6 separate regions of the Homo sapiens genome follow, and regions 2, 3, 4, 5 and 6 are each linked to region 1. Evidence: promoter capture Hi-C in human tissues and cell types (Jung and others, 2019). All regions are on one chromosome and are shown on one strand. The core of a region is centred on a gene start or on the middle of the fragment in contact, and the rest is flanking DNA. Distances in the headings are between cores, read along the strand shown. Region 1 holds the start of GJD2 (gap junction protein delta 2). Region 2 has its middle 28 kb from the start of LINC02252. Region 3 has its middle 9.9 kb from the start of LINC02252. Region 4 overlaps LOC124903462 (a long non-coding RNA gene). Region 5 overlaps AQR (aquarius intron-binding spliceosomal factor). Region 6 has its middle 39 kb from the start of ACTC1.

The links. The method cuts DNA at HindIII sites, captures the fragments that hold promoters and counts their contacts. A contact is called where the count stands out against the background at its distance.
Region 2: a contact is called between a fragment that was not itself captured here and the fragment with the promoter of GJD2 in region 1, in 3 of the 25 tissues and cell types used here (aorta, heart left ventricle and mesendoderm cells).
Region 3: a fragment that was not itself captured here is called in contact with the fragment with the promoter of GJD2 in region 1 in 3 of the 25 tissues and cell types used here (adrenal gland, dorsolateral prefrontal cortex and mesenchymal stem cells).
Region 4: a fragment that was not itself captured here is called in contact with the fragment with the promoter of GJD2 in region 1 in 2 of the 25 tissues and cell types used here (IMR-90 fibroblasts and thymus).
Region 5: a fragment that was not itself captured here is called in contact with the fragment with the promoter of GJD2 in region 1 in 2 of the 25 tissues and cell types used here (H1 embryonic stem cells and dorsolateral prefrontal cortex).
Region 6: a contact is called between a fragment that was not itself captured here and the fragment with the promoter of GJD2 in region 1, in 2 of the 25 tissues and cell types used here (heart right ventricle and mesendoderm cells).

The regions. Positions count from the first base shown.
Region 1 is chr15:34,753,370-34,757,424 of GRCh38, reverse strand. GJD2 (gap junction protein delta 2) reads left to right here and starts at 2,427. Exons shown (of 2, transcript NM_020660.3): 1 at 2,427-3,007; 2 at 4,053-4,055. The coding sequence starts at 2,937. It overlaps GJD2-DT (GJD2 divergent transcript), which reads right to left and starts at 2,341. Exons shown (of 3, transcript NR_120329.1): 1 at 2,204-2,341. The HindIII fragment of the contact is 7,022 bases long and covers 461-4,055 here.
Region 2 is chr15:34,682,166-34,686,350 of GRCh38, reverse strand. No RefSeq gene overlaps it. Among named protein-coding and RNA genes, the nearest start is that of LINC02252, 28 kb to the right of the region's middle. RefSeq lists an enhancer at 3,141-4,185. The HindIII fragment of the contact is 5,135 bases long and covers 267-4,185 here.
Region 3 is chr15:34,663,806-34,667,470 of GRCh38, reverse strand. No RefSeq gene overlaps it. Among named protein-coding and RNA genes, the nearest start is that of LINC02252, 9.9 kb to the right of the region's middle. The HindIII fragment of the contact is 3,983 bases long and covers 1-3,665 here.
Region 4 is chr15:34,637,984-34,641,615 of GRCh38, reverse strand. The region is part of intron 1 of LOC124903462 (a long non-coding RNA gene); the gene reads right to left. Among named protein-coding and RNA genes, the nearest start is that of LINC02252, 16 kb to the left of the region's middle. The HindIII fragment of the contact is 4,905 bases long and covers 1-3,632 here.
Region 5 is chr15:34,858,138-34,861,926 of GRCh38, reverse strand. It overlaps AQR (aquarius intron-binding spliceosomal factor), which reads left to right. Exons shown (of 35, transcript NM_014691.3): 34 at 1,772-1,885. Among named protein-coding and RNA genes, the nearest start is that of ACTC1, 64 kb to the right of the region's middle. The HindIII fragment of the contact is 4,126 bases long and covers 1-3,369 here.
Region 6 is chr15:34,832,228-34,836,148 of GRCh38, reverse strand. No RefSeq gene overlaps it. Among named protein-coding and RNA genes, the nearest start is that of ACTC1, 39 kb to the right of the region's middle. The HindIII fragment of the contact is 5,149 bases long and covers 1-3,921 here.

The DNA of each region.
Region 1 (4,055 bases), core at 1,178-3,677:
ATGGGATCGCAGCATCTGTCTTTTTAATGAAGATCCCCAGACAGTCTGTTGTGCAGCAAAGGTTATTCTATGAGCATTCTACGAATTTCATTGTTTCTCATCCAAAACTATTATTTTAATAAACAGAATGGCTTTTAAATAAGATGTAATGGAAAGAACTTCCCAGCTGCCTTAAACGGGGGTTTTCAATCAGAGGAGAGTTGAGATAATCAGAATCTATCAAGAAGATACAATGCCCTGAGGAAACTGAGAGATGCCCGGATCCACAGAGAACCATTTCACATTTAATGCACATTTGTTTATCGGAACAAATTATTAATTGAAAATGGAGTTGACTGGACTTGAAGGAGGAAGTACAATGTAGTAAGTGTGAAATTTATGAGTGGTTATTAAAAATAAAAATGGTTATTTCTGAAGTGTGGTGGTGAGACTAAGATTTTTATTTAAAAGTAGCCTACACAGTCCAACTGATGAGTTTTAAAATATAGGTTCTATATATATGCGTCTTTGTGCACTTATACACCTATGTTGTTTGCACATGTTTATATGTGGAATCTATATGGCATATTAAAGTATATTTCAAAATAATACACAAATGATCAACAATTCAGTCATAGCGTAGTGTCTGATAATTGCATTTCCTGCAGTCTATGTTCTTAGGATCATAATCTTTAACGGTTTGGGAAAGCCAACACATAAAATGACAATTTTGAGTTGTGCAGCCTATTTTGGGACATTTAAAGATGTTAAACAGATTTCCCTTTGGACTTACTCATTCACTTCTTGGCTAAGATCATTTACTATAAGAGAGTCTGCCAGACAAGGAGGGAATACAGGGACCTAGGGCCAAGGGGAGTAGAAGGGAAACCTGGGAAAACACACCAAGTTTGGGTTAGGGGATCACCATTCCATCTGGAAGCTAACTGGATAATAGGGTATCCATTCGTCCTCACCCTTGAACCTCCTCCGTGTTCAGAAGGAAACTAATAAATCACTTTATCCCTCTCTCCATTGTTAGTGGACTCTTTTACTCCTTTGCAGTGAAAGGCTGCTTTCTTGGGGTAAAGATGTCAACCCTAGCAGAGGATTTCAGTGATCTTTCTGGCGGCGAAGCTTAGACCGTGTGTTTAAACATCATTTTATGAAGAAGTACACTGTGAGTGGACTGAGGGCCATGCCCTGCACCTTTCTTCCCAGTCCCTGGGCCACCAACTACCCAACCACCTCGGTTGTTCCAGAAGTGAAGGCTCACCATGGTGTGGCTTATGTAATATACATATGTGCTATGATCCCTGTGGATAATTAAGGCTAGGTCCCTTTATATGCCTAGGACAAGTTAGCAACCCTTTCAAGGTCGTGTTTTCGAAAGGATGACAATTACTTTCCCATTGGACTTTTGGTACATTTACATCAAACACTGCCAGCTACAGTGTCTCCTAATACTGACCCCTGGGCTAATTAGCAGCTTAGTGAGGTTGTTTCAATTTTTCAGCAACCAATTAAGTAGTTGCTCTAGACAGAACTGACAACACAATGTGAATTTTAAAAACCGGGATCTGCTGGTTGAGGGGAGAAAGCCAAACCCAGTAAGGCAAGTGGGGGCAGGGCGAGGCTGTGAGTGGCTCTGTTTCTGCTAGCAGAATACTGGGTCTTAAATTCAGATTAAATCACAGTTTACCTGACGAGTACCCCGCCCCCCCTTCCCATTAGTAAAATAATAGCAATAATTTAAAAAGAGCCGAGCATCTGGGTTAGTGCAAGGGGAAGCGAGACCTTTAACCATGGCCACCCCACTTGCTCTTTGCGAGGCACCTGTTAGATGCGCTCGTGTGCCCTGACCCCTATACCGAGAGACAGCTCCACACCTGCATTTACCCTTCAGCCTAAATGGATTCCCATCAAGCCTTTCTCACTTCACTGTCGGATCCACAGAGGCACCGAACCGCAGCCACTCTGCAGAAGCACTCTCAGCCACTCTGTCCCCTAAGGGAGATTTAAAAGTGGTCGCCCCCACTCGCCCTCCCTCAGCCAGCATCTCCATCTAGGGAAGGAATTTCAGTTGTCTCCAGGAGGCAAAAAGCGAAAAGGTGAGGGATGCACCGAGAGAAGAGAAGATACCTACTCACTCCCCTCCCCACTCACCCACGCGTCCGCTCCCGGCTCCCCCTCCGCCTGCTTGGGTCTGGCGGTCAGGTGAGGTTACCTGGGCTCCCCGAGAAGCCCCGAGGGGCGCTGCAGTCCTTCCTTTCGAAATCGCCCCGCTCCCCGCCGGGCCTCCAGGACTCTTGCCCCTCTCCCCCCGCGCGCGTCCCCGGCCCCTCGGGCTCCGACGCGCAGCGACAGCCGCACGGCGCGCTCTGCTCCCCTCCGCCGACCTGGCGTGACGCAGGCGGAGACTACTTAAGGGCGGATTAGAGGCGGCGGCCGCGGATCCCCGAGCCCAGCATTCGGCTCCGCGCGCTCGGCCCTGGCCTCGCAGGCTGCCGCGCCGGAGCGCCAGGTGCCCGCTGAAGTAGCAGGAACAGAGCCGGTGTTCGGACCCTCCCCTGGCCCCCAACCTGCGGCGGAGAGCGGCGCTGAGACTTCTCCTGGGCGGGCGAGCGCTGGAGGACCTGCAGGCTGCCACCCCGCCCCGCCCCTCGTCCCGGCGTCCGCGGGATCCAGACCCGAACCCCGGACGGCGCCCGAGGTTCGTGCCCTCTCTCTAGACCGCGCCAACTGCCCCATCGGTCGGGACGCGCTTGGATTTCTTTCCCCATTTCTTCTCTTTTAAGTACAATAAAAGGAAAGGGGGATTCGAGGATTTTTTAAAAAATTGCTTCTTTAATTGGGAGGCAATTCACTCCCATTCTGGAAGTGCGGCCCGGGGAGGGGCCAGGAGCGGGAACGTGCCCGGTGCTGCCCAGTCTTTGTCTGCTGCCTCCGGATGCACAGCGATGGGGGAATGGACCATCTTGGAGAGGCTGCTAGAAGCCGCGGTGCAGCAGCACTCCACTATGATCGGGAGGTAAGGGCGCCAAGCCGGCGGTCAGGGGGCCCCGTCGGGCGGCCCCCGGGAGTCCCTTCTCACACCTGGACTGAGTCTCCCGCTCCAATCCCCAGTCCGTCCTCTGCCTCCTCCCCATCGTCCTAGGTCAAGGCTCCGGTGTTCCCGGCGATGAGGGATTACCCGACGCCCCGCGATGCCCCCCTCCTCTAGCTACTCCTAACCAGCTGCCCATCCCTTCCCCATCAAGCACCACTGGGGCTTCACTCTTCCCACATCAGAAAAGGAGCCGCTGGCTCAGTCTTGGTCCCTCCACTCTCCAGAGTCAGAGCCAATCTCCATTTGGTTCCCTAAATAGAATCTACAAAGAAGGCAGGATTGCATTTGGACAGAAAAGGGCAAATGGGGAGATGGATTTGCTCTTCAGAGCAGATGCCTCTTTTCTCAACAAATAATTACTAAACCAAACTTATTTGGCGGTGTAAACTTACCGAGCCTACACACCCAATTGCCATTTTTGGGTCTGTATCTATATCTATGTCTCTATCTACCTAGCTTTATATATATATGAGTTCAATATATATGAATATATATTCATAGCCATCTGCTTATATAAAGCATTAAATTTAATATTCATGTTGAGAATAAACTAAATATACACATGGAGTAGTTATTTACACACCCTGTGTGTAGACCTCGAAGCATGCACCATCTGTAAAGGTATTCTGTGTGCATTTGCCATATCCAGAGTGAAGGTGTGTTTTGTGTTTCTATACATTCTATATAGAGAGATGAAATCTATCTGTTGCAAGTAGACTATGTCCAGTGTATGGAGATGTGTGTACCTGGGATCTCTATAATATGAAATATTCCCAGCCTACCAGCACTCAGCAGAAAAGGAAGAGACAAAAAGCTTTCCCAGATTCCTAGTTCAGTACCAGCCCGGGATGGACAGCTCCCCAGTCAAAAGACTGGTAAACACCAGCAAAGGGAAGGGAGGAGCAGGGGTTTCCTGTCAGTGACGCAGCCCGTGAGAACCTCTCTCCCTCCCTCTTCCTCCGTTCAGGAT
Region 2 (4,185 bases), core at 1,585-4,084, 71 kb after region 1:
GAGAGAAGTAGACATATTCACGATGTGTACTGGAAGTACTTACATATCTCTATGATGTATTCTTGTTAATCAGAAACATTTCATTGCTCTGCTCTATATGTCTTATATTCATCTGACCACAGAGGCTGGGACACAGACTTAGAATAACATATGTGAAATCTCAGCTCTCAATGTCAAGGTTCTACCTATAGAATTGATCTGTATATACAAAAAGAAAATTTCAATAAGTTTCCTTGGCAGCATTCTTTTAAAAATCCATTATACAACCTCCAAAAGGGCATCTGCAGGCAGTTCCATATGGACAGTCATGGCAGTGCAATAGAATCCTTTTAGCACTGCTGTTGGGCAGGGTGATCGTGTCATATTTCACTTTCACTAACTGGCTTTTCACTTAGGGACCCAAATCTTGGAAAACAACAACAACAACAACAACAACAACAACAACAACAACAACAACAACACTAGAGATGCTAAAGCTAGCTATAATCTGGCCCCATCCTACTTCTCCATATTATTTCCTACTATTCCACAGCATACTTCTCCCCATCTAATTCAGTTGTCCTCTTTACTGTCCCATCAATACATTGAACTCCTAGTAATAGCTTATGAGGAGTAAAACTTATAATAACATGAGTTTCAAAACAAATGATAAAGATTATCACTTAATGAATATTTATTGTATGCCAGCCACTGTTCTTAGCACTTTACCTGCATTACCTTGTTCATTCTTTAAAACGATGCTATGGTGTAAGTACTAATATTATTTCTCATTTCCAGGTGAGGAAACTGAGCTTTGCTAAGTTGAATAAACTGCTCTGGGTAACAAAATTGGTGGTAGTCCAGGAATTCTAACTCAGATCTGTCTCCAAAGACCAAGCTTTTCACCATATTGTAGTGATTCTTACCACGCCTTTCCCCATTTTTTTTTTTTTTTTTTTTTTTTTGAGACAGAGTCTCTGTTGCCCAGGCTGGAGTGCAGTGGCACGATCTTGGCTCACTGCAATCTCGACCTCCAGGGTTCAAGTGATTCTCCTGCCTCAGCCTCCTGAGTAGCTGGGATTACAGGTGCACACCACCACATCCAGCCAATTTTTGTACTTTTAGTACAGACTGGGTTTCGCCATGATGGCCAGGCTGGTCTCGAACTCCTGACCTCAGGTGATCCACCCACCTTGGCCTCCCAAAGTGCTGGGATTATAAATGTTAGCCACTTGGACTGGCCCCCATATTTTTTCTGCATATGAATTGTTATTCCCTTTTTTCTCAAACCTCACTCATTCTTTATGACCTGAACCAAATCACACTCCTTCCATGAGCCTTCTCTGGTGACTCTGGCCTTGCTGATCAAACTTTCATCTGAAATCCTGTTAAATTCAGAGACTACGTTACTACTCAGTAGAAAAACAGACATGTATAACCTATATTGTATTTGTCTTCGTTTCCTGTGAGTTAGCCTCATCTCCCAAACAGGACTTGAGCTACCCGCAAACTGGTAGGCTATAGCCATTCCTTGATCCCACCAAGTCATGACAATATCTGGAGAAAGGAAAGGGGCCACCTCTTTCTGTGCCTCTTTTCTAGAAATGAGGAAACTTCTTTTGTAACTCCTCCAATGGACTTTACCTCACACCTTATTAGCCAGAATTGAGTTAAATGGCCTTTCTCAAATCATACAAGGGAACTGGAATTACCATGGTGGGCTGCAGAACTGGGGGTTAGGTCATCTTCCAAGTCATCAATGGTGATGATGAAGCAGGTGAGATCTTCAAGCATTAAAAAAAAAAAAAAGGAAGAAGGGGGAACAAAGGTTGTGTAAACAGCCAGTGTTCTGGAAGTTCTTGTGCAGGCTTGTAAGTGCCTGTTGTTAAATTCAGAAATTTTTAATGCTGGTAGATAAACATAGTCATCATCAAAACTTAAATTAGGCTAGGCGCAGTGGCCCACACCTGTAATCCCAGCACTTTGGAAGGCCGAGGTGGACAGATTGCTTGAGCCTAAGGAGTTTGAAACCAGCCTGGGCAATATAGTGAGACTTCATCTCCATGAAAATTTGCAAATTGGCCAAGTATGCGCCACTGCACTCCAGCCAGGGTGACAGAGCTGAGACCCTGTCTCAAAAATACAAAAAAAAAAGAAAATTTAAATTGTATTAAATACTTACAATAAAGTATGCTAAAGATAACACTCAAAAGTCATCACTTTCTAATGATTTTTACACATACTATTATCTATGCTCTTGATGCTATTTATGGTTGTGTATATGTGTTGGAAAATACTATAGAATAGTCAGCTATTGCACATCTCTTCCAACTCTGTGTTCAGTGACATCACATTGGCCTTTTTTTTTTTTTTTTTTTTTTTTGAGATGGAGTCTCGCTCTATTGGAAGGCTGAAGTGCAGTGGTGCGATCTCAGCTCACCGCAACCTTCGCCTCCCAGATTCAAGCAATTCTCCTGTCTACATTGGCCTTTTGAAAAAGTTATAGTGCAAATATTTACACCATGGAAATGGTCAGATAATACAAATCATGGCCTGCTTTATTGTTTTGCTGATTGTCTAGATTTAAGGTATTGATAGAGAAAATGTTACTAATGCAGATTAAAATATGTAAGTATATTGTGCCTGTAGCCATTAAATTGTGAATGGCACAAAAATTATTCTTCCAGTTTTCAAAAGTCATTATCTGAACCAGCAATGGCTCACATTATTGACAAATGAGTGAAGGTTTGACATAAGTCTTCCTTATTTAACTTTCATAGTATTTAATAACATAAATAAAAATATTGACCAACATTCAGATCAGAACCACACTCATTTGTTTACTGCCACAGAATGGTTATGGATACAAGCGTTCAGAAAAAAATCAACAAAAGCATTCTGTAGAGTCAATTGGCTTTATGGAATTTATAATAAAAAGTATTGTACACTTTATTATTCATAAATTATATGTTGCATGTCCTTTGTATCAGTTAAATTCATATCTTATATATAAATGCTAATATATATTAGTATATATACCATATATGGCATATAAAATTATATATACATATATATGTATATATGTGTAATATATACTTTTTTCCCCAGTGAGCCAGGTATTAAACATTTACCAGCACCACACTGAGACTACCAATATATTTACTACATCTTTGTAGTAATTTAAGTTAATTTTGTTTGGATGTCCTTTAGAAAATATAGTGATCTGATTTTAGATTTCCTTAATAAGTTAAAAGGTAGATTCAAAATGGTGTACCAAGTTTATTTATGTGGGGGCAGGGATCTGAATGGACAACTTTGCTTTGGTTTAATTCACTGGAGACTTCGGAAAATCAGTGAGGTTTATTTTACTAAATCATGAGGTTTATTCAAGTCTGTAGCTTGAATCAATTCAAGTTCTTGGTAGTAATAATAAGCTACACTGATAAAGGGATTTACCACAATCACATTGTTTTCTTTGATCACGATGAATCATCCTGGGTATGGCACATCTGAACATGTTGATCCCCGATGAGAGGTGAGTGTTCAATGAGGAATGTGCCCAGTTCTGAGCTCACCCTAAGGGAAATGAGAAATTTCATTCGTAGACTGTTTCTGCTTCCTTTTTGACTCGCTTTCCCCTGGAGAACAAATACACATTCACCTGCTGTTCCATACCTTTATCATCTTACCCAGTGGTAGGAGGAGAGATCAGCTTTTGGCCCCTGGGAATGCATGTTAAAATTTTATTCTCTTCCCCGGCCAGACATGATTTGGGCATGAGCTCTCCTTGGGTAATTGGCCCTCTGGGCTTTATTTTTGAATGATGGTTTCTTTTCTCAGTAAATGTGATACGTGTTGAAATGGGGAATAAAAAGAATAAAATGGGGAATGAAAATCAGTCAGTATGACTTTCTCCATAATCTTATTTCTCTTTATTGCTTATCACAATAATGCTTCTCTTCTAGTTCTCAACATGGTTAAACAAATCTTGACATTTCATCTATGGTTATTTTTATGATAGTTATTGTTATATTGATGATAATTATTAATACAAGGGTAGTAACAGTTATTTATTGATCCTCTGCTATGCATCAAGCACTAGACCAAATACTTATAACTTCTCTAACCCCCAGAACAACTATGCTGATAATCATTTTCTCTTTAAAAAGAAGAAAATTAAAATCCAAAGATATTTAATAACCAAGG
Region 3 (3,665 bases), core at 485-2,984, 89 kb after region 1:
TCAAAATTGTTTAAAGAGTACTCATTTGTGTCATACTACTTTTTATAGCTCCAGTCTCAAACATGTGTCCAGGACTTCCTAGGTCCTTTGCACTCTGAAAAAGAAATGGAATGAGGAGATAAGACAATTAAGAGGCAAACAAACCCTAAGCAAAGCTTCCCTGATTCTCCTGTTTAAAATAGTAGCCCTTTGGTGGCTCATGCCCATAATCCCAGCACTTTGGGACGCCGAGGTGGGTGGATCGCTCGAGCCCAGGAGTTAGAGAGCAGCCTGGGCAACATAGCGAAACCTCATCTCACAAAAAATACAAAAATTTAGCCAGGTGTGGTGGCATGCTCCTGCAGTCTCAGCTGAGATGGAGGATTGCTTGAGCCCAGGAGGTTGAGGCTGCAGTGAGCCATGATCACACCACTGCAATCTAGCCTGGGCATGGGACTGAGACCCTGTCTCAAAAAAAAAAGTAGCCCATGACTTTCTCTATGCCGGTCCTAACTTAATTTATCTCCCCAGCACTTATTACGTTTTCATATCCTGTTACATTTCTTTATTCATTCCGCTTATTATCTGTCTCTCTCCCACTAGTCTGTATGCTCCACAAAGATGAATAAATCTTGGTTAAATGAATGAATAAAATATCCATTCCTCTCTGAGAAGCAATTCCAAGAACACCTATGCTTGTAGATTTGGTAGCAATTCTAAGTCCCTGAGTCTTCAGCAAGGTTGGCCTTAGGTAAAGTGGTGAAGGTGGGAATTCTTCAGCATCTTTCCAGCTCTGTTGCTCATGTTCTCATACTGCTTTGTGGCTGCTCAGAGGAGATATAACTCTTCCCTCCCCTGTCAGTTGAGTGCTCAGTATACTATACTTCTCCTTCTCTTTGTCCCCTGATTCATGCTCTAGGGTTTTGTTTTGGATATCGTTTCCCAATGCATTGATGTGCTGCACTGGGCCATAGACTGCTGTGACCAGGTACACACTTGCTTTATAACTGATGGAGCAACTCCTCAGCAGGAGAGTTGCCAGTCTTGTGCAGGAACATATCCAGCTCCATGGCAGGTGGGTATGGAATCCAGAGCAGAGAGATCTTTGGGTGGGAGAGTTTGGGGCATCCTCAAACCACCCTATTGCAGGGCAGCTGCCTTGGCACCAGCCTTGATCATCAGATCTATGAAAACCACACCCTTCTGACTGCTCCTGAGTTTCTAGAAATTGCTAAGTTGAGAAATGGGCTGATGTTAATAATCAATAGGCATTGGATGGGCGTTGCTTCCCGTCCGTAAGTCTTTGGATAAAGGGCCTGAATCTGAGATGCAGACTTTTCAGGCTCTGGGTAGTTGTCAACAGAGGCAAAGGAAGCTCTTCTGTGTTTCTTTCTGCTCTAGTTGGTACTGAGTGTTGCAGCCACTAACCAGGACTGAACATGGTATTCCCTAACTCGAATCTTACAGGAAAAGGCGTTTGAAATCTCTGTGTGCCTGAAAACCGGTGACTTGTTTTTCTGTCATGAGCTTGGTTTCTAAATAAAGCAACAGATGTTTTGCTTTTGCCTCTTTCCTTTCTGTCCATGGCTCCTAACGTGGGTGATATTAACCAAGTGTGACAGGTTTCAGGTTTTTATTTATAGCAGTGGAGAACTGTTTTCATCTATCTGCAGAGTTCTGGGCTTCTGAAGCTGAGTCTTTCTTCAGCTTCAACTTAAAATCCTGAAGGGTAGAAGTTAAGAAGCTTGAAGGTTCTGAAGATAGGAGCCGTGTTCAGAGGGGAAAAGAGAACATGAGGAATCTGATGAAACTTCCTCATCTCTTTCACTGAGGCAAGATATCTAATGGCTTAGCTGGAAATGTGAGGCTTGTATCTATAAAAATCTTTACACCCTTATAGTAGAAGGCCTCCTATTTGAAACCATCAAAATTCCTAATAAGATTGAAAAACTTTATTAAATTGAGGAATCAAAACAATGCCTACCTTAAGCATTTATTTTAGCATATATATATGTATATATATATATTCATTTGCCAATCATTTGATAGAGAGCCACAGCCTTTTACTTTGAGATGAGTCTTCCGCTTATAGTTCTATATTACCTTTTTAAAATAAACTACATCCATAATGCATTTTCTTTAATTTGTAGTCATCATTTCTCAAGTGGAAAAATAACACTTGCAAGCCAGGTGCGGTGGCTCATGCCTGTAATTCCAGCACTTTGGAAGGCTGAGGATCGCTTGAGCTGAGGAGTTCAAGACCAGCCTGGGCAATATAGGGAGACCCCATCTCTACAAAAACTAAAAAAAATTAGGCAGGTGGCATACATCTGTGTTCCCAGCTACGCAGGAGGCTGAGGTGGGAGGATCACTTGAGCCCAGGAGGTCGAGGCTGCAGTGATCCATAGTCATGCCACTGCACTCCAGCCTGAGTGACAGAGTGAGACTCTTGTCTCAAAAATTCCAAACCAAACCAAACAAAAAACACTTGCAAAGCACTTTAAGTACATCTTCCTTCTGGATTTTTGCAAATTCCACCCACCTCCCACCATTACCACATACATACTGCCCAGTCTTTGATGTTGGTTTCTCCTACATCTAAATTGATAACAATTTTAAAAATTCAGATATATTTTTGTTGGGTTATTCCAAAGCATTTCAACTATATTTTTATAGAACAATCCCCTTTCTGTTAAAATTCCTTTTTAAAACATTGAAACATAACTTAAACTGCATGTATTTAACTTGTACAATTTATTAATTTTGATATATGTATATATCTGTGAAACCATCACCATAATCAGGATAATGAACCTATGCATCATCCTAGAAGTTTCCTCGTGTCTCTTTGTAATTTGTCTGTCCTGTTTCTCCCAGACCATGACTCCCTTCCCTTCCCAGGAAACCACTAATATGTTTTCTGTCACTATAGATTAGTTTGCATTTCCTAGAGTTTTATATAAATCAAATCATACAGTATGTACTTTTTTTGGACTGGCTTCTTCTACTTGGCATAATTATTTTGAGATTTACAATATGTCAATATTCCTTCTCTTTTTATTACTAAGTAGCCTCCCATTGTGTTTGTATAGAGCAAGTTGTTTATTTATTCTGATGAACATTTGAGCTGTTTCTCCTTTTTTGGCTATCACAAATAAAGCTGCCATGAACATTCATGTTCAAGTATTTGTAAAAGGTCTGCTTTCATTTCTCTTGGGTGTAAATACCTAGAATGAAATGGCTGGATCCTATGGTAAAAGTATACTTAACTTTCAAAAAATTTGCCAAACTATTTTCCAAAGCGCATTACCATTTTGTACTTCCAACAACAGTGAATGAGAGTTCTAGTTCATCCACTTCCTTGTTAACCACTGGTACAGTTAGTCTTTTTTAATTTGGGTCATTCTAATATGTGTGTAGTATCTCACTGGGTTTTAATTTGCATTTCCCTAATGACTAACGACATTGAGCTGGTATTTCATGCTGGTATTTGCCATCTGTATATGTTTTTGGAAAAGTGTCTGTTAAAAATCTTTTGCCCGTTTTGGTCGGGTTGTTTATATTCTTAATATTGAGGGTTTTCTTGGGTTTGTTTTTGGTTTGGTTTTGTTTTAGAGATGGAGGTCTTGCTATGTTGCCCAGACTGGAGTGCAGTGGCTATTCACAGGCACCATTATAGCTCACTG
Region 4 (3,632 bases), core at 441-2,940, 120 kb after region 1:
CTTTATTCTATTTTCATTACCATAATGTATATTTTTATCTATTCACATTTACTAGAAAGTTACTAGTAAGGTCAAAGTCATAGAAAACTAATAGTAATGTAAATGATTCCTGTCATGAAAAGGTAATTTGGGCTAGGCATGGTGGCTCAGGCCTATAATGCCAGCACTTCAGGAAGTCAAGGTGGGTGAATCTCTTGAACCCAGGAGTTCAAGACCAGCCCGGGAAACATGGTGAAATCCCATGTCTACAAAAAAATGCAAAAATTAGCCGGGTGTGGTGGTGTGTGCCTGTAGTTCCAGCTACTTGGGAGGCTGAGGAAGGAGAATCGCTTGAGCCCAGAAGGTTAAGGCCACAATGAGCTGTGATCATGCCACTGCACTCCAGCCTGAGCGACTGGAGTAAGACCCTGCCTCAAAAAAACAAAAGCAAACCACAAAGGTAGTTTGCATCTGGCAAAATGCAAGGGACTATTGCCTTGTAGATAATAACCTGTTTTGTACCTGCTAAGCAAATTCACTTCAGCATTTCTGATGGACTTACATATTTGACTGCTCTTTGGATTCTCCTTTGAGCCAGCTGTAAAATCTTCATTTCCTCATGAATTAATAAGTAAAATCTTTGACATGTGATCTTTTTATAGGACAACCATGATTTACCTTTTAAGAAAGATCCTTTGACCAATGTATGTAATCTCAGCACTTTGGGAGGCCAAGGCAGGAGGACTGCTTGAGGCCAGGAGTTCAAGACCAGACTGGGCAATGTAGTAAGACCCCATCTCTACAAAAAAATAAAAAATTAGTAGGGCATGTTTGCACATGCTTGTAGTCCTAGTTACTCAGGAGGCTGAGGTAGGAGGATCACTTGAGTCCAGCAGGTTGAGGCTACAGTGAGCTATGTGCTACAATAAGGCCATGTCTATGCAGACATGGTGAAAAGGTAGAAATGAAATTCAAAGTTACTTCAAAATAGTTTATCTTCCCTGGCACAAACTGAAACTTTTATGATGCTGTGGAGAGTATGAATTACTACTAAGTCCAGTTGACTAAAATATCTCGAAAACACAGTACATCTTGACACATTAAATAGAACCTCAAACTGCCTGTATGTTCCAAGACTCACTGAAAGTTTGTCAGTTGTTCTCGTGTTTGTTCTACTTGAGGCAGCCCACTCGCTTTCTTTCCTTTCTTCCTCCCATCCTTTCTTCTGTTCTTATTTCCTTCATTTTTCCTCCCTTCCTTTTTTTCAGTTGGCTTTCTAAGCTACTCTAAATTACCAATATAAATCCAGTGCCTTCTTATTTATTTGCAAAGAGCAAATACCATTCGTGTTATTCAGTGGCCACCTTGTGAAAGCTGACTACTTCTACAATGATTGAATTTCTATCTATAATCATTAAGTGGGGCAACAGAAGTAAAAAGACATAAACGGCATTTAGCATAGTATATTACTTTGAAAAACAGATGAATTTTTTATGTAAAATGCTACTGAAGCACTCACTTAAACACAACCATTCAATTTCCTACCTCGAGCCCAGAAGCTCTCTTTGCTGGCCTAAGATATTTTTCTTTATCTAGCATGCCTGATGTTGCAGGTCTCTTTCTCACTCTTTATTCTGCAAGACATGCTCAGATTCTCTTTCCATTCAATTTATGACATAATTCATTGAATGCTACAGCCTACTTGAGGATTTTTAAAAAATATTTTCTAGCCCTGCAATAGAAATTCATTTTTCCAATAAGAAATGTGGTGATGACCCTGTCAGCTAAGTCTCCTAATTCATCTGTCTGTGTGAAAAAGCTCTTCCCTCCAGGCCCCTTCAGAATTCATATATAAATTGCTCTCTATGTATTAGCATCTGCAGTGAAACTAGCTTTCACACTTTTTAAAAAATAAAAAATATGTATATTTTACAATTCCAGAAGTAGAAGATAATAATCAATTCAAAGTATTATTATCCAATTTTTTTCTGGTTCTCAGGGATCTATCCACAGTTATGAGAGGAAAGAATTTCTAAATGACAGTGTACTAACAAAGCATTAAAAATGAGACACATTATTCTAGACTCGCATTGTACTGTTACCAGTAGCATTTTTCTAATCAATATAATAGTTAATCTTAATTCAGGAATATGTCCCAAGTGTTTAAAATGGAAACTTGAATGTTAGTAAATATTTAAAGGATCTAAACATGTTTTTTTTAAAAAACACAAAAATAGGAACTTATAAGTCATTGTGTGCTAGCATTAGAAATTTTAAAAATTAAGTAAAGTGCCTCCAGTAGCATCTCTGGTGTGGCATAAATAGAAAATGCATTGTAAATATGAAATTATGTGGTCAAATGTGATTAACTTGCAGGGGAGAGGAACAAACAGGGCCAGTTTCCCTTGTAGTCTCATACTTTGTTTGTGTAATCAATTGGCCTGTTTTATCCTGGGAAGGTTTTAAGAAAGGATGTTCTGACTGACTACAAGCTTCATTATATCCTCAAACCCTTAATACAGTTTTCCCAGGATTTATAACCAGAGATGGACATTGACAGCTGCACCTCCCCTAACCTGATTTAGCTAGCCTACTCCATCATCTACATATACTTTCATTAATTCAACTGTTATTGAGTATCTCCTATGTACCAGGCATTGAGCTAGGTGTCAGGTAATACAGATGGTTGCTAAAGGGAAAGATGAATAAATCAAAGTCCCGCATCTCAAAACTTCTAAAATCTAGTAGGAGAGACAAAAATGGGCCGGGCGCGGTGGCTCACGCCTGTAATCCCAGCACTTTGGGAGGCCGAGGCGGGCGGATCACGAGGTCAGGAGATCGAGACCATCCCGGCTAAAACGGTGAAACCCCGTCTCTACTAAAAATACAAAAAAAAAAAAAAAATTAGCCGGGCGTAGTGGCGGGCGCCTGTAGTCCCAGCTACTTGGGAGGCTGAGGCAGGAGAATGGCGTGAACCCGGGAGGCGGAGCATGCAGTGAGCCGAGATTGCGCCACTGCACTCCAGCCTGGGCGACAGAGCGAGACTCCGTCTCAAAAAAAAAAAAAAAAAAAAAAAAAAAAAAAAAAAAATGTGTAAGTATGGTAATAATAAAAAATATAATATCTCATTGAAACAAGTAGAATTTTTTTTTTTAATGTTGAAGCACTTCAGTAAAGAGTAGCCATTAAGCTGGACCCTGTCAGTTAAATACAACTTTCACAGGCAGGGATGGGGGAAAGGAAATCTAATTCAATCAAATAGTTTGAATTATTACAAAAAGGAATGTACATGTAAATCTTAGGAATCGTGACTAATTCATCATTGCTAGTGCATAAGGAAAAAAGAATCTAGAAGAGTAATTATAAAAAGCAAGTTCCAGACCATGATAGAGGCGTTCATTGCCATGATGTCTTAACAGCATTGTCATGGAATTGTGTATGAGCTTTGTATTAGTAAATTCTGAGACTTTCCTGATGATACTGAATGATACAATTTGGAAAAAAAAATTATTATCACCCTTCTTCTGATGACTTATAATTCATATTAATTGAAATAATTATGTCTTCACACATTTCTGAAACTCTTATTTCAGCCCCAGGCCAACACAGTAGGATAATGGGTATGCAAGGGTTAAAAAACAGAAAAACTGGGT
Region 5 (3,789 bases), core at 57-2,556, 110 kb before region 1:
TTTAAATAACATTATTTTAGATGTTCACAGTATACGTCTTCCCTCCACCCCTACTAAAAAAAAACTTAAATCTTGTGTGTTTAATAATAATAAGTACTTTATAAAAAGTGCCTTTTTATTTACTTATTTTTGAAGAAATGCTGCTGTGGAGAAATAGGAAAATGGTGGAGAGAGATCATGGGGTGGTAGGGTCACATAAAGCCTCAAGTGTCAGGCTCAAGTCTAGACACAATCCTATTATATCCGAGTTTCTTGATCTTTTGTGGGCTAGTAAACAGGCACATTCCTGACAAGAGGTCTGGGACAGAGCCTAGGTGTCATCATGTGTAACAAGCTCCCCACGTGCTTTCTATGTAAGGGCTACATGTCACACCTGAAGAAATCTGGAGTGCAGGTCAGACAATATCACTGAACAGAAGGCTTGGAAACCCATGCTTTAGATAACACTCATGAGTTCAAGGCCCTGGGGAGGTTAGGGCTGAGAACATCTCCCCATCTTCTCCTCAAGAGATAGTGAGGGGCGGAGAGTGCTGTGTCTCAAGGAAAGGCAGCTCTTGGCAAGACTCCAGAAAATAAGCTAACAAGCAAAAACTCTTCCATGTTCCTAGTCATAATAGCATGGCCGTATTTGTACATACGAGTTCTGACCATTGCAGAAAATGACCATTAATCAAAAGAATACCTGCTTAGATGGAATGCTGCCATCCTGCTTACTTCTGAGAAATGTTGTTTAATTTACTAAATTATTTCTAACTTCATGCTCTTTAAATAACTTTTCACTTTGAGATTGAATCCTCCTTTTTTGGGGTATGTTTTTTACCTTAATGATTTTCTAAATTGTTCCTATCATAAGAAAGGATAAGACTTTATAAGCATTTTATTAATAACTATAAATAGGAAAGTTGTTAATCTCTATTTTAGGGTGGTTTAAAAAGAAGTGCAAATTCTGTATTTTCTTGATTTGCTTTACTACCTTACCTACACTTATAGAGCAGTGTTTCTTAGATTGTTGTCAGAAGCTACAGAAGAATCAGCTCATTCCACCCAGACCTTCTGAATCTGAATCTATAGGGCTGGAGCCTAGGTACCTGCAATTTAACAGTCTACCCCAGATGATTCTGATAGACACCAAAATCTTAAAAAGAGCATTTGAATATTCACCCTCTTGACTCATAGTATATGTGTTAAATAAAAGTAAATGTTAGCCTCTTACTTTTTAGAAAAATATAAGTAGGACAAAGAGTGTTAATATTTTCTTTCTGAATTATCTTAAGAACTGTCTTTGGAGCATACACAGTCTTAGAAACTGCTGTTTCAGACTGTGTTGACTTTTCTCTCTAGTCAAATAATTACTTATCTTGTACTAATTCTTTTATATTAGATAGTAAACTAAAACCCATACTTAACTTACCAGCCCAAAATTATATTAAAAGCTGGCAACTCTTAGCTCTTCTAGTCTCTAACCTTTCTAAATTTCAATGGAATCACTATTCTTCATGAAGTCTTTTTTTTTTTTTAATGGGAGTCACGTGGCCAGCAGGCAGAGCGTGCTGACCTGGGCCCCCTTTTTATTAATTCTATTTAAGTCTTTTTTTAACATTCATGAAGTCTTCATTGGACTCTTCACACTTGCATTTTATGTCCTCTTACTGTTAGGTCTTCCAGACCCTAATTGTGCTTATTCATAAGATTAAGAAATGGGTTTATGTTGAAGTGTTACCTTCTAGGGTTGTTTTACTAGATACTTAACGTTCTTTTTTCCTTCTTCTAGAATGGAGAGAGACCATCTCATGAAGTACAAATAATAAAAAATATGCCCCAGATGGCAAACTTTGTATACAACATGTACATGCATTTGATACAGACTACACATCATTATCATCAGGTGAGTTTCTCAAAATCGACTTTTATTTTTCTTGCTGTAGAAATAATTTTCTTTTTTTCAGAATAAATCTTTAAAGTACCTAATTCCTTGTGGGAAATCAGCTAAACTAAAGCAGGCTATTATTATTTATGTAACATTCGTATTTTTAAAACTTCTTTATATAGTTAGAATTCCACATACAATAAAGTCCACAAACTTAAAGTGTAAAATTTTATATGTTCTGGCATAGGTATTTACCTGTGAAGCCATCAGCACAGTCAAGATAAAGAGCATATCCATTATCCCAAGAGTTTTCCCTTGTGCCCATTTGTAATCCCTCCTTGCCCTTCACCAGTCCCCTTTTTACCTTCCCAGGCAGCCAAGGATCTGCTTTCTGTCATGATAGGTTTGCTTCTATTTTCTAGATTTTTATATAAATGGAAGCATACAGTATGTATTCTTATTTTTTCTGGCTACTATTGCTTATACAAGTCTTTGTACTTTATCTTGGGTAGATACCTAAGAGTGGAATGGCTGAATTTATGTTAAGGATGTGTTTAACTTTTTAAGAAGCTACCAACCTGTTTTTCAAAGTGGTTGAACCACTTTACACTCTCAGCAGCAGTGTGAGAGTTCTAGTTGCTACACATCCTCACCCTCACTTGATATGGTACGTCTTTTTAAAATTTTGGCAGTTCTAATAGATATACAGTGGTCTCAGTATGGTTTTGGTTTTCATTTCCCTAAGGACTGATGATGAGCATCTTTTCATGTGGTCATTTGCCATCTGTATATCTTTGGGGATGTGTCTGCTCAGGTTTCCTGCTCATTTTTTTATTAGGCTGTATATTTTATTAAGTTTTGAGAGGTTTTTATTTATTCTGGCTACAAGTCCTTTATCTGATATGTATTTTACAAATATTTTCTCCCATTCTGGCTTGTTTATTTATTTTGTAAGTGTCTTTCAAAGAGCAAAAGTTTTAAATTTTGATGAAGTTCAATGTATCAAAGTGTTCTTTTATGATTCATGCTTTTTATGTCCTAAAAATACATAGCCTAACTCAGAGGTATAAAGGTTTTTTCTAGAAGTTGCAGAGTTTTAGGTTGGATACTTAGGTATGATGCATTTTGAGTTAATTTTTATATGATACAGGTAGGACTGAGTTTTATTCATTTGTCTGTGGATATGCAGTTGTTTGAGCACCACTTCCCTAATAGGCGATTTTTTTCTTTGTTGACTTGCTTGTCATCTTAGTCAAAATATCAATTGACTATATATGTGAGAGTCTGGGCTTTCTATTCTGTTCCATTATTCTGTATATCCGTCCCTTTGCCATGACTGTACTACCTTGATTATAGTAGCTTTACAGTCAGTCTGGAAATTAGATAACATAAGTCCTTTAGCTTTGTTCTTCATTTTAGAAATTGTCTTAGCTATCCCAGTTCCTTTGCTTTTCTGTATACATTTTACAATCAGCAGGTCAGTTTCTACCCCCAAAAGCATGCTGCAGTTTTTAAAAGGATATTTTGAAGAGGAGGATTGTTTAGGATCTATTTGGGGAGATTAACATCTTCACATATTAAGTCTTCCTATCCATGAATAAGATCTCTCGTTTATTTAGATCTTCTTTAAATTCTCATCAGGATTTTGTAGTTTTCAACATACAAACCTTACACATATTTTGTTAACATTTTGCTAAGTATTTTTCTTTTTCGTTTTCTTTTTTTTTTTTTTTTTTTTTGCTGCTGTCGTGCACGGTACTTTTTAAAAATCTTAAAGGCCAGGCGCGGTGGCTTATGCCTGTAATCCTAGCACTTTGGGAGGCTGAGGTAGGTGGATCACCTGCGGTCAGGAGTTCGAGACCAGCCTGGCCAACATGGTGAAACCCCGTCTCTACTAAAAATACAAAAATTAGCCAGGCATG
Region 6 (3,921 bases), core at 381-2,880, 80 kb before region 1:
GTAAGAGGAAACCAATTTAGGGGTTGCCTGTGCTTGGGGGGTATTACTCAAGATATTTTTGCCCAGACTAATGTCTTGGAGAGTTTCCCCAGTGTTTTCTTGTAGTAGTTTCATAGTTTGAGGTCTTAGATTTAAGTCTTTAATCCAAATTTATTTGATTTTTATATAAGGTGAGAGATAGGGATCCAGCTTCATTCTTCTGAATATCGATATCCAGTTTTCCCAGCATCAATTATTAAAGAGACTGTCTTTTCCCCAATGTACATTCTTGGCAACTTTGTCAAAAATGAGTTCACTGTAGGTATGTGGATTTGTTTCTGGGTTTTCTATTCTGTTCTATTGGTCTATGTGTCTGTTTTTATGTCAGTACCATGCTGTTTTGGTTACCATAGTCTGCAGTATACTTTGAAGTCAGGTAACATGATTCCTCCAGTTTTCTTCCTTTTACTCAGGATAGCTTTGGCTATTCTAGTTGCTTTTTTTTTTTTATTCCATATATGTTTTAGGACATTTTTTCTATTTCTATGCAGAATCTCATTGGTATTTTGATAGAGATTACATTGAGACTGTATATTGCTTTAGGTAGTATGGATATCTAAACAATAGTGATTCTTCCTATCCATGAACATGGAATATCTTTCCATTTCTTTGTGCCCTCTTCAATTTCTTTCATCAGTGTTTTATAGTTTTAATTGTAGAGATCTTTCACTTCTTTGGTTAATTCCTAGGTATTTAATTTTGTTTGTAGCAATTGTAAATGGGATAGCTTTTTAAATTTCTTTTTCAGATTGTTCTCTGTTGGCATATAGAAATGCTACTGATTTTTGTATGTTGATTGTTAGGTTTTTCCAAATGTAAGATCATGTCATCTGCAAAAAAGGATAATTTGAGTTCTTTCTAATTTGGATGCCCTTTATCTCTTCTCTTGTCTGATTGCTCTAGCTAAGACTTCCAGTAGTATGTTGAATAACAACGGTGAAAGAGGGCTTCCTTATCATGTTGCAGATCTAAGAGGCTTTCCATTTTTCCCTATTCAGTATGATACTAACTGTGAGTCTGTCATATATGGCCTTAATTATGTTGAGGTATGCTCCTTCTATACCTTTTTTGAGGGTTTTTATCATGAAGGGATGTTGAACTTTATCAAATGCTTTTTCAGCATCAATTGAAATTATCATCTGGTTTTTGCCCTCCATTCTGTTGATAATGATGTATCACATTGATTGATTTGCATTTGTTGAACTATTCTTGCATCCCTGGGATAAATCTCACTTGGTCATGATGAATTATCTTTTTAATGTATTGTTGAATTTGGTTTGCTAGTATTTTGTTGAGAATTTTTGCATTACTATTCACTGGGGAGACCGGTCTGTAGTTTTCTTTTTTGATCTCTGTCTGGTTGTGGCATCAGGATAATACTAGCCTCTGAGAATGAGTTTGGAAGTATCCCCTCTTCCTCCATTTTTTGGGAAAATTTGAGTATTGGTATTAGTTCTTTAAATGTTTGATAGGATTTAGCGGTAAAGTCATTGGGTCCCAGGCTTTTCTTTACTGGGAGACTTTTTGTTACAGCTTCAATCTCATTGCTTTTTATTGGTCTGTTCAGGTTTTGGATTTTTTCGTGGTTCAATCTTGGTAGGTTGTGCATGTCTAGAAACTTACCCATTTTTTCTAGATTTTCCAGTTTATTGGCATATAATTGCTCATAGTAGCCACTAATCATCCTTTGAGTTTCTGTGGTAGCCGTTGTGATGTCTCATTTTCCATCTCTGATTTTATTTATTTGGGTCTTCTATCTGTTCTTCTTGGTTAGTCTAGCTAAAGTTTTGTCGATTTTGTTTATATTTTTCAAAAAAACAGCTTTTTTTATTGATCTTTTGTATTATTTTCTGTTTCAAATTCATTCAGTTCTGCTCTGATCTTTATTTCTTTTCTTCTACTAATTTTGGGTTTGGCTTGCTCTTGCTTTTCTAATTTAATTTGTTTATTTGAAGTTTTTCTTCTTTTTGATGTAGGTTGTTATAGCTATAAATTTCTCTCTTAGCACTGCTGTTGCTGTATCCCATAGGTTTTGTATGTAGTGTTTACATTATCCTTTGTTTCAAGAAATATTTCAATTTTCTTCTTAATTTCTTCATTGACCCACTGGTCATTCAGGAGCATATCATTTCATTTCCATGTGTTTGTGTAGTTTCCAAAAGTTCCTTTTGTTACTAATTTGTAGTTTTATTCCATTGTGGTCAGATAAGATGATATTTTTTAATTTTTTGAATGTTTTAAGTCTTGCTTTGTGACCTAACATATGGCCTATTCTTGAGAATAGTCCATATACTGAGGAGAAAAGTATGTACTCTGCAGCCATTAGATAAAATGTTCTGTAAATATCTATTAGGTTCATTTGTTCTATAGTGAAGATTAAGTCCAATGTTTCTTTGTTGATTTTCTGTCTGGGACATCTGTCCAATGCTGAGAAGTGGGGTGCTGAAATCTCCAACTCTTATTGTATTTGGATCTATCTCTCTCTTTAGCTCTAATAATATTTGCTTTTTATATCTGGGTGCTCCAGTGTTGAGTGCATACCAATAGCTTTTTAAAGAGGCAGAAGATGGGACTAATATCAGAAACCTCTCTATTCCCTTTAAAGTACAGTATAATGGGAGTTGCCATGCGCAGAAAAATCTTTTTCTCATTATCTTTAAATTTTATCAGAATTGAACAACCATTTCAGGCTTATTTATATATAGATATCTAAATCTTTCCACCCCACTATGGTCAGAATATTGGTGTTCCCGCCACCAAATTCATATATTGAAACTTAATCCTCAATGCAGTAATATTAAGACATGGGGCCTTAGATAGGTGATTAGGTCATGAGGGCTCTGCTGTCATGAATGGGACTAGTGCCCTTATAAATTAGGTTGAAGAGAGCACCCTAGCCCCTTCAGCCAAGAATGCAGCAAGGGGCACCATCTATGAATCTATGAGTGAGTCTTCTATAGACACTGAATCAGCTGGTGTCTTCATCTTGGACTTCCCAACCTCCAGAATTGTGAGAAATATATTTCTATCATTTATAAATTATTCAGTGTACAGCACTTTGTTATAGCAGCCCGAATGGGCTGAAACATACCCTATTGTTGTAAAATCTGCTGCCCAGAGTCAACAAAACACAGAAAACAGCCATCCCCTTCTCCTCCCTTATCCTCTTACAGAATTCTGCCTTAACAAGACCCACTTTTATCAGTATCTGTTGTTCCCATATAATTTTCCTGCACAGCAATGTTCTCCACTCCGTAATAGGTGAAGCTTTTTTTTTTTTTTTTTTTTTTGAGACAGAGTCTTGCTCTGTTGCCCAGGCTGGAGTGCAGTGGCACAATCTCGGCTCACTGCAAGCTCTGCCTCCCAGGTTCACGCCATTCTCCTGCCTCAGCCTCCTGAGTAGCTGGGACTACAGGCGCCCGCCACCACAGCCAGCTAATTTTTTGTATTTTTTAGTAGAGATGGGGTTTCACCATGTTAGCCTGGATGGTCTCCATCTCCTGACCTCGTGATCCTCCTGCCTCGGCCTCCCAAAGTGCTGGGATTACAGGCATGAGCCACCGCGCCTGGCCTTCGGTGAATCTTTTTTTAAGGACACAAAAATTCTCTTGTGCCCTGTGATATTAGTGAACTGGATTTTTTAAGCCCATTGATAGTGTTTCCCATACTGAAACTCTAGGTTAGGCCATTACTAAATGGGGTTTAAACCAATTCAAGTTGGTTTAACATTCAAAAATGAAACAATTATCATCAACATAGTTCCCCACATTAACAGAAAAAAGGAGAAAAAATATATGATCATCTCGACAAAAGCAGAAAAATGTTTATCAGATTTCAATGCCCATTTTTGGTTAAAAACTCTCAGCAGTCTAGGAATAAAAG